Linked DNA regions of Homo sapiens: regions 1 and 3 are each linked to region 2. The links are contacts of gene promoters, found by promoter capture Hi-C in blood cells and fetal thymus (Javierre and others, 2016). All regions are on one chromosome and are shown on one strand. Each heading gives the region's core, a stretch centred on a gene start or on the middle of the fragment in contact. The rest is flanking DNA. Distances are from core to core; before and after follow the strand shown.

The links. The method cuts DNA at HindIII sites, captures the fragments that hold promoters and counts their contacts. A CHiCAGO score of 5 or more calls a contact.
Region 1: the fragment with the promoter of GDPD4 here is called in contact with the fragment with the promoter of LINC03030 in region 2 in 4 of 17 cell types (neutrophils, M2 macrophages, M0 macrophages and 1 more); the score reaches 7.2 in neutrophils.
Region 3: a fragment that was not itself captured here is called in contact with the fragment with the promoter of LINC03030 in region 2 in 1 of 17 cell types (M2 macrophages); the score reaches 6.5 in M2 macrophages.

What each region holds. Positions count from the first base shown.
Region 1 is chr11:77,300,361-77,303,060 of GRCh38, reverse strand. It overlaps GDPD4 (glycerophosphodiester phosphodiesterase domain containing 4), which reads left to right and starts at 1,375. Exons shown (of 17, transcript NM_182833.3): 1 at 1,375-1,456. The HindIII fragment of the contact is 12,830 bases long and covers 1-2,700 here.
Region 2 is chr11:77,569,774-77,572,473 of GRCh38, reverse strand. LINC03030 (long intergenic non-protein coding RNA 3030) reads right to left here and starts at 1,385. Exons shown (of 3, transcript NR_130930.1): 1 at 1,164-1,385; 2 at 789-959. The HindIII fragment of the contact is 9,547 bases long and covers 214-2,700 here.
Region 3 is chr11:77,256,159-77,258,858 of GRCh38, reverse strand. GDPD4 (glycerophosphodiester phosphodiesterase domain containing 4) reads left to right here. Exons shown (of 17, transcript NM_182833.3): 11 at 317-473. Among named protein-coding and RNA genes, the nearest start is that of GDPD4, 44 kb to the left of the region's middle. The HindIII fragment of the contact is 1,295 bases long and covers 747-2,041 here.

The sequences.
Region 1 (2,700 bases), core at 126-2,625, 270 kb after region 2:
ACATCTTGTCATTTAGTGATTTAGAGCCATAGAAGATGGAGCAGACATGAAGGGAAAGATAATGAATTTAAGTTAGGGTTTACTGAGTTTGAGGTGTCTGCAGCAGGACGGCCAGATTGAAGGCCAGTGGCTGGCAGTTGGAGATAAAGGTCTAGAGCTCAGGAACGAGGTCAGAGTCAGAGAAATGGCTAGAGGAATCAAAGATTAAACAAACAAAAGCGAAAACAGGCCCATTTGTGGCCCTTTGAGTGGTTGAAACTGGTTTAAAAAAGGTAAGGCAAAGTGGGGATGGTTACTGGGTACAACAGATATATAGTTAGAATAAATAGGATCTAATATTTGACAGCACAACAAGGCGACTACAGTCAGCAATTATTTATTGAACATTTTTAAAAATAACTAAGAGTGTAACTGGAACGTTCATAACCCAAAGAAATGATAAATGCTTAGGTGATGGATACTCAGTGTACCTGATGTGATTCTTTTTTTTTTTTAGATGGAGTTTCACTCTTGTTGCCCAGGTTGGAGTGCAGTGGTGCTATCTCGGCTCACTACAACCTCTGCCTCCCAGGTTCAAGTGATTCTCCTGCCTCAGCCTCCTGAGTAGCTGGGATTACAGGAATCCACCACTGTGCCCGGCTAATTTTTTTGTATTTTAGTAGAGACAGGGTTTCATCATGTTGGCCTGGCTGGTCTCGAACTCCTGACCTCAGGTGATCCACCTGCCTCGGCCTCCCAAACTGCTGGGATTACAGGCGTGAGCCACTGTGCCTGGCCTCCTGATGTGATTCTTACACATTGTATACCTTTATCAGAATATCTCATGTATTCCTACTATGAGTTGTATAAATAATACACTTATTATGTACCCATAAAAATTAAAAATTTGTTTTAAAAAGGCAGAAAAAATAGTTAAAAATAAAATAAAATAAAGAGGTAGCCTGGGCGTGGTGGCTGGGGGGCACAGGGCTGTAGTCCCAGCTACTCTTCAGGCTGAGGCAGGAGGCTGCTTGAGCCCAAGTTTGAGGCCCAGACTGGGCGACAAGACCCCGTCTCTTAAAAAATATATAAATATATAGATAGATGTATATATATATATGGCAATTTTATGAATAACTGGGATACAAAAAATTGGTAATGCTTGAACTAAGTTATTAACAAGGACTAAACTTAAACAGTCAAGTTCTTTTTGTAAGAACCAAACCAAACCAAAAACAAAGAGAGCATACCTTACCGGACATTTAAAAGGTGGGGCTCTGAGCCAAGGCTGGGGGTCTGGCCTTAGCTTCAGCCTTGCTCTGGCACGGGGTGTCCTTGACCACGCCCACAGCCCCGCCAGGCCGCCCCCTCCCGCCCCGCCTCCCTCGGGCTGCCCTTCCAGCCAGGCGTCCATCTTAAGAGACGCTGGTCTCCTCAGGCGTGAAGATTGGATTTGGGTTGGGACTGGGAAGTCTCGGTAAGTAAATGTGCCCAGTTCCGTGCTTCCTCCCTAAGCAGCACCAGAAGCAGGAAGTTCTATTAGTATTATTAGTCGGCGGCCAAACTTGAGGCCCTTTGACGTTGTTCGCTCACTCTGTCGGGTCGTTTGTGTCCCCTCTCGAGGATTACGGGCCTGGACCTCCTGTTCAGTATCTGACAGTAGCGGCTTCGTGTATTTTCTAGTTTTCTAGTTGTTAATGGCGAAGGGGATAAAAATCAGCTTCGACTATGCCAATCCTGGGCGGCAACCCTTGGGTTTTGATCTCATGAGCTGGGGAATGGCGGTGACCTTTACTGAGATGGGACAGATTGCAGGAGGAATCGATTTTAGAGGGAAAAAACATCAGGGGTTCAGTTTTGGACATATTACTTTTGAGGTGCCTGTGAGAAATCCAAATGGAGATTTCAGTAGCCTGTCGGATATATGAGTGTAGAATTCAGAGAAGAGCTCTGGGAAGGAAACAGTGTTTCTCGATCTCCCCTTAAATATTAGGAATTTTCATGTAAACGTGGCTACGCTGGCTGGTGCTTAGACACAAAGTATCTGCAGGTGTGTAGACAATGGTGGTGGTAATTATTCTGGTTAAAAAGCTGCCTTTTATTCGATATCCAAGCAGCTTACCATCCTCCCATAGAGCTTTTTGTTCATAACGTCTGCCCTTGGACACCCCAGTATTTGCAATTAGTCACACCAAGTTCTATATATATGCAGTAGTTTCATCATTAACCAACTGAAAGTTTTTTTCTCATTTCCATTGTGATTTTTCTTTGACCATGCGTAGGTTTCTGTGTGTTTAATTCCCAAATGTGCAATTTGTTTTTCTTACTGATTTCCAGTTAAATTGCACTGTAGTCAGAAGATATATTCTTAAGATGTCAAGGTTTATTAAAACCAATTGTGATTTTTGATAAATATTCCATGTCCATTTTAAAGTACACTCTGCATTTGTTGAGTACAGTGTTCTATAAATGTTAAGACTAGTTAATCAACTTTTACAGTCGTCTATATCCTTACAGACTTTTTTTCTGCTTATTCTGTTTTTTTTTTAAGAGGTGTGTTAAATCTCCTACCATGATTATGCATTTGTCCATTTCTCCCTTAGAGACTAGGTGATTGGGTACTGTTATAGTTTCGGTGCCGCAAAAGAAATAGCACTCAAATATAAAATTTTCTTTTTAATTCTTAGCAAGGCAATATACTTCTATAGAAGGGTGCACCCT
Region 2 (2,700 bases), core at 136-2,635:
GGCTATGAGTGAAAACAAGACGTTTGTGCACTACCAATCCCAACCACCCGATGCCAAATAAGAGAATTTTTAGGGGCAGCAGGAATTTGCCCCATCTGGATTCCAAATCTTTCCTTGATGGCTGTGCCGTTATATGAAGCCACAAAAGGAGGACAAAAAAACCCTCCTTTGGGAGACTAATCAGAAAATGCATTCCAACAAATCAAGGAAGCTTTAACTTAGGCCCTAGCCTTAGGACTACCAGATATAACTAAGCCTTTCTATATGTTCATGAACAAAAAGGAATGGCTATAGGAGTTCTGACTCAAGTTGTAAGGTCATAACATCACCCAGTAACATACTGATCCAAACAATTGGATTCTGTGATGCTAGGATGGCCTCCCTGTGTTAAGGCATTAGCCGCCACCACCTTGCTAAACACAAGAGGCTAGCAAATTGACTCTAAGACAGCAGTTAACCATTCGGGAGCCACACTCAGTCATAACTCTGATGGACCGACTCCCAGTTCCTGTGTACCTAATTGGGGTGACGAGCCACTATCACCATCTCCAGTTTCCTTAGTTGGGGTGGCAAGCCATTCTCGCCACCTCCAGTTTCCTTTTCCTAACCAACTTAGTGAGCCACTCTTGCTTCCTGTGTTGATTGGGGTGAGAGTTTCATCCAAATTGACAGCCGCTCTCATCGCCCCCAGTCCCTCTGGGTCGGACTATTAGGCATACCCCGGGAGGTGATCAGGCTCCCTTTCCGTCCTTACAGGATGGGTCCTGCCTTGGGCCCCAAAACCTTACCATGATTCCTGAAGTGCGCTGTTTCTAGAATCATCCTGTAGCTCCTCTCAGGATCTGTTGCGCTGCTGGGTAGGGGTGCTGGGTCACGGAGAGCTGATTTCCCCTCTGGGCTGAAGTTCTCCCGGCGGCACCTGGGGTCACAGGTCTCCCTTGGCCCAGGGCTCCAGCCCCCTATAGGCAAAGGAGACAGTAAGCCTGTCATCTCCACTCCTGGCTGGCTTGCCAAGAAATGTTGCAGGAAACTGAGGAATGGCGAGACCAATATGAGAGTACAGGAAGATATTTATTTTTAGGTACGCACTGGCTGAGTGGATTTATATCCAAAAACCTGAGCATTAAACAAAGACAGAGCAGGGTTTTTATAAGTGGACTTACAAAAGTAAAACAAAAGCAGTTAATCATATAGTGCATAACTTGTGGCCTTGCATAGCTGGTGGCCTTGGAGCTGTGTCAAAAGAAAATCAAGAACTGGCTAAATACAGACATTTGTAAAACATAATCATGCTTAAGAAGCCAGGGAAAGAAGTAACAGTAAAGGAATTTGTCTTTCTCTTTTTTTTTTTCCTTCAACCTTGTTCTGGAGGGGAGGGATGTCTGCAGCCCATTCCTTTGGCCTTGGCTTCTCAAACAGCATTATCTTATAACTGTCCTTGAAGTGAGCTTGCTAGGCCGAGGAAAACTTGTTCTTTTCTTTTTAACCCTTGCCTTGCCTGTTACTTTTCTTGGAGTGAATGAATGCATATTTATTTTTAAATTTCTGCCTCAATCTCAGCACTTTGGGAGGCTAAGGTGGGTGGATCACGAAGTCAGGAGATTGAGACCAGCCTGGCCAACATGGTGAAACTCTGTCTCTACTAAAAATACATAAGTTAGCCAGGCGCGGTGGCACCCTCCTGTAGTCCCAGCTACTTGGGGGGCTGAGGCAGGGGAATTGCTTGAACCTGGGAGGTGGAGGTTGCAGTGAGCCGAGACTGTGCCACTACACTCCAGCCTGGCAACAGAGGAAGACTCCGCCTCAAAAAAAAAAAAAAGAAAAGAAAATGGTTAAAATGGAAATTGTTATGTTTATTTTACCACAGTTTTTTTTTTTTTTTTAAAGAAATGAGCTATCAAGCAAAGCAAAGACATGGATAAATGTTGAATGTATATCAGTAAGTCAAAGAAGCAAGTCTGATGGCTTTTTACTATATAATTCTTTTTTTTTTTTTTTTTTTGAGACGGAGTCTGGCTCTGTTGCCAGGCTGGAGTGCAGTGGCATGATCTCGGCTCACTGCAACCTCCACCTCCTGGGTTCGAGCGGTTCTCCTGCCTCAGGCTCCCGAGTAGCTGGGACTACAGGGGCCTGCCACCATGCCTGGCTAACTTTTGTATTTTTAGCAGAGACGGCGTTTCACCATGTTAGCCAGTATTGTCTCGATCTCTTGACCTCGTGATCCACCCGCCTCAGCCTCCGAAAGTGCTAGTATTGCAGGTGTGAGCCACCGTGCCTGGCCGTGATTCTACTTATATACATTATGAAAGGTAAAACTACAGAGATGAAAAACAAGTTGGTAGGAATTCAGTAAGGAGGATTGAATAGGTAAATCACAGGACATTTTAGGATGGTGACATTATTTTGTGTAATACCATAATGATAGTGACATGATACATGACACCTTGCATTTGTCAGAACCCTTAGAACCTAAAGTATGCAAATTTAAAAAAATCATTTAGGAGCTCAGATAGATGATCCCAAGATGAAATAAAGAACGTGACAAAATAATCTAACTGTATTATGAACAAAACTCAATGAAGGAAATGGGAGAAAATTGCTGACCTAAGTAACTTTGGAAATGGGTGGATCCTGTAAAACTCAATGCAAAAGGAGTACAGACTAGGGAGCAATATGGCCAAGTAGAGGCCTCCAGAAATT
Region 3 (2,700 bases), core at 145-2,644, 310 kb after region 2:
CCTACCTCCATTCACTTTATTTTCAGGCCACTACTGTGCCTGCTGTTTTCCTAATGCCAGAAAGCCCCTGAATAGAGAAGCTAGTCTTTCACGATCACTAATGTGATTATATATCATGAAAGATTGATCCCTAGAGCAGAAAAATATTGACATCAAAGTGTAAATGACTGATATGTAGCCCTTTTCTAAGATTTGAGAGGGAGTAAGGAGCCCTAGTGACACTTGTGACCTTGAAGGACTGTCTGGGGAGCCTGTCTACCAAGGTAGCTAAATTCAGCCTATCTACCCCTGCCCTTCTTTTCTACCTCTGCCTCAGTTATGATCATGTGCCTTTCCTCATGCATGACTTTGACCTGAAAAGAACAACCAATATTGGGGAAGTTCAGCCAGAATCTGCCTGCGAGAACCCTGCCTTCTTCAACTGGGATTTCCTATCGACTCTGAATGCAGGCAAATGGTTTGTAAAACCAGAGGTAAGACACATTCCCAAGTTCCACAAACCTGCATTGAATTTTTGTAAGAGATCATGTGCTGCTCCTGAAAATAAAGGCCATAGATGAAGATAGGCAAGTATCCACACGATTTCATCCCAGTTTGGTAGCAGGACTATAGTATTGGCAGGAGGGCTTTTTCAGTAATGAAGTGAGTCTAATTGCTGCTTTCTACATTCACTAGAAAGTCTGAAGACAAACTTGTAAACTTACCCTTATCTTGTAATTTCTTTTTACCCAAATATTTCATAAGCTTTTACAGTATGGCTAACATGTACATAACATTTTCCTAGATGAGGCAGACTAGGACATATATTTTTGATTTTTTCTGCTTGCCATTCAACAAATATTTATTGAGCACCTAATGGTACAAGGCACATGGAATATAATGGTGAATAAACACACATCCAGCCTTAATGGAATTCACAGGCTAGTATAAGAAACAGACAGTTACTGTACATTGTGATAAGAGCAAAACGAGTTAATTTCAGGTTGCTTCAGGAGCACACAAGAACAACTTCTAACTCAGACTGAGGAATGTAGATGGGAGATTCTGGAAGGAGATGTATAGACTAATAATGGATGTGGTACAGTATAAAGCACGTGCTGTGCAGTGTACAGTGTAATTTTGAGGCAAGTATGAATGGTTCCTCTGGAAGAAGTTGGGGAATACTTTATGCACAGCTACCATTTGAGCTGAGGGAAGATCATTACCAAGGGGAAGCAAGGGCAGTAATGATGATGTGTTTCAGAGATTATCCTGGAGCAACAGGGTGTGTGTGTGTGTGTGTGTGTGTGTGTGTGTGTGTGTGTGTAGGAGAGGGAGGGAGGGATAGAGGAAAGAAGAGAGGAAGGAAGAGGGGTAGGAAGTAGATGAGCGATAGATTGGGAGAATAATCTGGAAAACATGTTGATCGGAGATTATGGCAATGCTTACATAACAAGTTAAAGAGTTTAGAATTATCCTTGAGTGTTTTTAAGTGGGTAAAAAGTCAGAATTGCATTTGATAAAGGTCAAGCCTACTTTCTCAAGATAGATTAAAGAAAACAAAACAACCTACGTTTTCTAGCTTATTTTATGACTAGGAATTCATGTGACCTAGGTTCTGACCAATCAGCTATACTCATTTGAGACTTTGATTTTGAAAATAAACATCTCAACAAGATAGATAGCATGCATCCATATTGCTAGCACATGTGACAGCAGAGATAGCAAGGTGTGAGGGTCAGCTGTGGTAATAGCTCACTTATACGGTAGTAGTGTAATTAGGAAAAGAAAAGGGATTTTTGATTGTGTACTGGTGGAATGGAATTTTATTTATGTTTGATGTTAATCCTGAGGGCCGTTTGATCATGTTTCATGTAAAAATAGGGAAAAGTGAAGAATTATGTACAGATGGACTTACCTACTGTGTTTGTCCATTTTGTTTTGCTATAAAGGAATACCTGAGACTGGGTAATTTAAAAAGAAAAGAGGTTTATTTGACTCATGGTTCTACATGCTCTACAAGCATGATACCAGCATCTGCTCGGCTTCTGGTGAGGAAGCTTTTACTCATGGCAGAAGATGAAGGGGGAGCAAGGCATGTCATATGGCGAGAGAGGGAGCAAGAAAGAGAGAAGGAGGTACCAGGCTCTTTTCAACAACCAGCTCTTGCTTGAACTAATAGAATGAGAATTCACTCATTACTAAGGGGAGGCCACCAAATCATTCATAAGGGATCTGCCCCCATGACCCAAATGCCTCTCACTAGGCCTCACTTCCAACATTGGAGGTCACATTTCAACATAAGATTAGGAGGAGACACATATCCAAACTGTATCATCTACTGAGACTCCACTTCAGATTCATTGTATTAATTAGTATTGATATAAGAAATAGCTGAAAGTGGATTTGTTATTACTGTAGTTACTCAGAATATTTGTCCTCATAGGAGTACATAGTCTATCCATGCTATTTCCATATATGAAAATAATGTGATTACTCTGATATTCTAGGTTTCTGAGTATATGTAGCGTCTGCAATATGTCTCATATATAGACACATAAAAACTAGAGGTGCTCCATTAGGATGTATATATTGAATTAGTTAGCTATAGTTAATATTTTGGCAAAGGTGTGTTCTAGATGAAAAGCCTATTATTGTATCTGATGTATAATATAAGGCTGATAAAAGTCTTATTAGGATTTACAGAATTAAACTTACTCC